Regions from separate parts of the Homo sapiens genome. Here region 2 is linked to region 1. Evidence: promoter capture Hi-C in 16 types of primary human blood cells and fetal thymus (Javierre and others, 2016). All regions are on one chromosome and are shown on one strand. Each heading gives the region's core, a stretch centred on a gene start or on the middle of the fragment in contact. The rest is flanking DNA. Distances are from core to core; before and after follow the strand shown. Region 1 holds the start of GIT2 (GIT ArfGAP 2). Region 2 overlaps TRAFD1 (TRAF-type zinc finger domain containing 1).

What was found. The method cuts DNA at HindIII sites, captures the fragments that hold promoters and counts their contacts. A CHiCAGO score of 5 or more calls a contact.
Region 2: a contact is called between a fragment that was not itself captured here and the fragment with the promoter of GIT2 in region 1, in 1 of 17 cell types (monocytes). The highest score is 5.7, in monocytes.

What each region holds. Positions count from the first base shown.
Region 1 is chr12:109,995,063-109,997,779 of GRCh38, forward strand. It overlaps GIT2 (GIT ArfGAP 2), which reads right to left and starts at 1,306. Exons shown (of 20, transcript NM_057169.5): 1 at 1,111-1,306. The coding sequence starts at 1,162. RefSeq lists enhancers at 577-626, 1,317-1,476 and a silencer at 957-1,046. The HindIII fragment of the contact is 1,710 bases long and covers 1-1,681 here.
Region 2 is chr12:112,129,750-112,132,466 of GRCh38, forward strand. It overlaps TRAFD1 (TRAF-type zinc finger domain containing 1), which reads left to right. Exons shown (of 12, transcript NM_006700.3): 2 at 762-820. The coding sequence starts at 774. Among named protein-coding and RNA genes, the nearest start is that of TRAFD1, 5.5 kb to the left of the region's middle. RefSeq lists an enhancer at 965-1,014. The HindIII fragment of the contact is 894 bases long and covers 930-1,823 here.

The sequences.
Region 1 (2,717 bases), core at 56-2,555:
GTGGTGTTCAATGATTTAATTAAGATTGTTTATCGGACACTATTGTGCCAAGAAAGCCATGTTACCTTCGAATTAACTCAAAGCCAATACATCCAAGCACCTAAAACAGCATGTAATAATCTATCCAGAGACCTGACAATTCAGTTGCAATTGCTAAGACACACTTGATCTCTAAATGTGAATATTATGTATGAACAGTTATGCATCATTATGAAGGAATGGCTTTAGCGTTTCAATGCCCCTATATTGCTGGTGATTTTGCGTTTGTTTCCGTTGTAATCAACGTATGATTTAGATAGTCAAATATAGCTTTAAGGGACTACAAGAGTTCTACTGTAGACAGCATAATGCAAAAAAGAAAAGCCTTAGATGATATGATTCTACGAGTATTCATTGAATCTTCCTCACCACTAAGCGTGATACTCCCGATTATCCTCATTGAAAAAAATGAGGAAATCAAGCAAGTGACCAAGTGAAGTCACCAGCCCAAGGTCAGCCAGAAGCAAAATCTAGTTTGAACCCAGGCCGTTCAGATCCTCAAACTTGAGACAAGCACTGCCTCCTAAGTGCTGGTTGTGTTTGGAAGACCCCGATCTCCTGGCAATTCTCCCGGGCAGAGTAGCTGTCGGATGTCAGCAGCGGGGAAGTCATCTACGGGGACCCTCTGGCGAGTCTCAGGGAGTGTCATCCTCCCCGGGCAGGACACCCAGGCGGAGAAAGGGTCTAGTGGGAGGTGACACCTGCAGCCTCTGGAGGCTGCAGCCGGGAGGACGCTCACATTTTACTTCTGTAATTGGCTTTCCTGTGGATTGCCCAAGCCCCTTCCTGTTGGGGGAGCAGCCCTGGCCCCCGTCACCTCCCCAGTTGGCCTAGGACGGAGGGAACGGGAGGGAACGAGAGGGAAGGGAGGGCCGCGAGGGACGGGGAGGGCGGCGGCCCCCTGCCCGCCCGGCTCTGACAGGCCCGGGACGGTTCCCACCCCAAGGCCGCCCAGGGACCTCTTCGTTGCGACCCTAGCCGCGGGATGCAGCCTGACCTGAGGGGGCGGCCCCGGGGTAGGGGTCCGGGCCAGGAAAGCAGAGGGGAGCGGGCCCGGCCGGTGCGACTCACCCGGCCCGCTGCAGTCAGCGCACACCTCGCTGCTCCGGAGCCGTTTCGACATGGCTCCCACCTCCCACCTGCGGGGAACTAGAGGCCGGGGGACAGCAAAGGCGGCGGTGGCGGCGGCGCTTCCGCTCTAACGGGTCCCAGCTGCGGCGGCGCTGACGGCGGCGCCTCTCCCCTCAGCGCCTTGCAGCCTTGGCACAGCACGCACGCGCGGGGAGGTGCCCTTCGGCGAGTGTCAGGTCATGTGACCGGAAAGGGCACTCTGCCTTGTCGCCATCTTGAGTGAGGGCAGGAGACTGCCCGAGTATCATCTGTCCTACCTTTAAATATTGAATTTGGGTCTTCTTCTCTGGCAGAGATTCCCCTCGTCCCAACTGATTAATACCAGGGGAAGTAGCAATATCTTGTGATGAGAACCCTGCAGCCACAACCTTCCTGAGGCAATCAATGGTCAAGTTCATTCATTCATTCCTTGATTCAACAAATGTTTATCAAGCACTTACCATGCTTTATATACTGTCCCAGCCACTGGAGAAACAGCAGTGAGCAAAGACTGAATTTCTAGTCCTTATGAAGCTTGCATTTTACTGGGGTAAAGTAAAATAAGAATATATTATATGATTCCAGGCTGGGCGTGGTGGCTCACTCTTGTAATCTCAACTCTTTGGAAGGCTGAGGCAGGAGGATCACTTGAGGCAGGAGTTCGAGACCAGCCTGGGCAACATGGTGAAACCCCATCTCTACTAAAAATACAAAAATTGGCCGGGCGCGGTGGCTCACGCCTGTAATCCCAGCACTTTGGGAGGCCGAGGCGGGTGGATCACGAGGTCAGGAGTTCAAGACCAGCCTGGCCAACATGGTGAAACCCCGTCTCTACTAAAAATACAAAAATTAGCCGGGCACAGTGGCAGGAGCCTGTAATCTCAGTTACTTGGGAGGCTGAGGCAGGAGCTTGAACCCAGGGGGTGGAGGTTGCAGTGAGCTGAGATCACGCCATTGCACTCCAGCATGGGCGACAGAGTGAGACTCCGTCTCAAAAAAAAAAAAAAAAAAAAAAAAATTAGCCGGGCGTGGTGGCGCATGCCTGTAATCCTAGATACTCAGGAGGCTGAGGCATGAGAATCGCTTGAGCCTGGGAGGTGGACGTTGCAGTGAGCAGAGATCGCGTCACTGCACTCCAGCCTGGGGGACAGAGCGAGACTGTCTCAAAAACAACTTCAACAACAACAACAAAAATAACAAAAAAGAATATATTAGATGATTCCTTAGGCTTCAGTTTTAATCTCATGTTCAAAATTAAGATAATGCATTGTTTACTTCTAGTCCACGATTTGTTTTTGTATGGCTTGCTACTTAAGAATGATTTTTACATTTTTAAAGGGTTGCGAGATGAAAATGAAGAAGAGAGAGAGGGAAATAAAGAAAAAGAGGAAGAAGAATATGCGACAAAACTTGTATGTGACCAGCAAAGTTAAACATTCATTTTGGCTAAGGACAGATGGAATAAATTATGGGAAAAATGTGATACACCTGCTGGATAGTAACCCCTCAGTAAATAGTAGCTCCCATAATTATGGATATTGCTATTATTTTCTAATTACTGTTTTTCT
Region 2 (2,717 bases), core at 127-2,626, 2.1 Mb after region 1:
CTCCTGCCTCAGCCTCGCGAGTAGCTGGGATTACAGGCATGCGCCACCACACCCAGCTAATTTTTGTATTTTTAGTAGAGATGGGGGTTTCACCATGTTGGCTAGGATGGTCTCGATCTCCTGACCTTGTGATCTGCCTGCCTCGGCCTCCCTAAGTCCTGGGATTACAGGTGTGAGCCACTGCGCCTGGCCAGGATGTTATTATTATTATTATTTTTGAGACAGGGTCTCACTCTGTCACCCAGGCTGGAGTGCAGTGGCATGATCATGGCTCTCTGCAGCCTTAAACTCCTAGGCTTAAGCATTCCTCTTGCACATTCCTCCTGCCTCGGCCTCTCGAGTAGCTGGGACTACAGGCACACATCACCATGCCTGGGTAATTTTTTTTTTTTGTATTTTTTGTAGACATGACGTTACCCCATGTTGTGGCCAGGTTGGTCTTAAACTCCTGGGCTCAAGTGATCCGCCTGCCTCGGCCTCCCAAAGTACTGAGATTACAGGCATGAGCCACTGTACCCAGCCTAGTAAAAGTATTTTATTTTATTATTTTTATTTTTTAAAACTCCCTTATCCAATAAAATTATTTTAAATTGAAAATTTTAAAATAAGAAAATCCCAAGGGACTGGATATTGAATAAAATGCTTTAACATGCAGGTTTGGGTGACAGTTTCTGTATACTAGTTTTTTATTTGTTTTTTTGCATGTCATCTTTAAAGCAGAAATGAAAGAGAAAGTTCATGTCTTCCTTTGTGGTTTTCAGGAAGAGCTAAAGATGGCTGAATTTCTAGATGACCAGGAAACTCGACTGTGTGACAACTGGTAAGACATTAAATCTAAGAAATGTTAGTGGAATGAGGACAGTCAAGCTTAATCACTATCATTTCCTGATTTAAAAACTGTTAGTGAAGACTGGCACAGTCTTGAGTTAAGCTTTCTATTTTGGTGTTTATAACCCACATGAATTACAAGAAAGAGCATCTCTTTCCTGATGAAATGAAACCGGTTGTAAAGTTAATAATCAGCTGGTTCCTGTTGGGGTTTTCCTAAGAACTTATCTTGGTATCTTGGTGCTATACAAGTGCTGTTACTGTAAGCTGACAAAAAAAGCAAAGCAGAACTGTCTGCTATGTTTATTACTTTATTTTCCTTCACTGGGTACTTCTTTCACAATGTGCTATGTTTACCTTAGCAAACTGTGGTAGAAAGAGATGTGGAATAAGGAAAATAGTTTAACTCATTGGTGGAATATTTGAGCCAAATAACATTTTTGTCATCATCGTTGTCTTTTTCTTTCTTCTCAGCCTAACTTTGGCAGAATTAGAATATAATTAGAGCAACAGCTGGTTACAATATTCTTTACCTGCTTGGAATTAAGATTTCATCTCATTGTAGGTGTCTTGCCATATTGTAGAGTATTTCTGCTATGCCACTATCACTTTCTACCATTTCATAAACTATTTTAGTTTTGTTTGGGTTTTATATGTATAGCTACTGAAACAGAGTAATCAGAAACAAATAATCAAAAGAAAACATGATTTTGTAAGAAAAGAGACACATTGGTTTTTAGCATTAGTTAAGATACACCTATTTTATCAGTCCACTCCAATTAGGAGGAATCTCAAGCCTAGGACAAAATATAAATAACTATGCTAAGAGAGTTAAAGGGTGAGTTAATGGAAAGCTAGTGAAAAACAATGCTATTCAAAGCCAAAGAAATTAAAGAAAAAAGCAGATTAGCATAGAAGGCTGACTAAACCTGTAAAGAATTAATTTCTGGCTGTTTGTGTTTAGTGTTTGGAAAGTTCTTGGGAATTTTTCTGGAAGCTTTGGTTTGCCTTTCAGCTATTTCTATCTAAATGAAATTTCACCTCTAATTTGCTAGCCCTTCCTTGAGACTTTTAGCAGTTTTATCTGGATACGGAATTGTGTGCTCATTTATCTCACTTAAAACATCTTCATTTTCTCCGAAGGTAGGAAGTAAGCATATTAGTATTTGGTCTGGTTGGAATGTTTGGTAGGAATATGTTGGCAGTTAAATTTTAAAAGAAAAAAACCCAGCAGGCAACTGTTTTATATAATTGTTGCAAATATCTTTTTTATTTCAGCATTTCCTAAGAGGTGAATATGTGCAATAGTAAATGCTTTGTGGTCTTACTTGACAGCTGCTTTTGATTCTTGTTGCTTCATATTATGATGGTGTGGTCCTTAATATTTTTTGTTTTAATTCTAAAGTTTTAGGGGCCTTGTGTATGTAGTATGTCAACAAGTTATCCTGAACAGCCTTGTAAAGTAAATGCTAGACATTTAGTGTCTCCATATTTACCATTAAAATAAAAATTATTGCCAATATTATGAAAAAGGAACCCAGGTTTTCTACACCCTAAGCAGTAATTACTGGCTTTAATTTTCATGGCATTTGTACATACATGATTTACAATCACAATATAACATTTCTTCTTTCACTTTGTTGGTATACTATATGTAACTTAGCTATTCCTTTCTTGCTTAGGTATTTTTAATGACTTTCATTTTTTACCATTCTATGATACTGTAATGAAAATATTCATACATAATCCCAAGAGTAGGATTATTGTGTTACAGAGTATATAATTTTATGGTCCTAGAAATGAATTTTCAGACTGTTTTTAGGCAGTTTATACTACCACCAGTAATGTATTAAAGTATTCATTTCACAACATCTTTAAAAAGTTGGGAT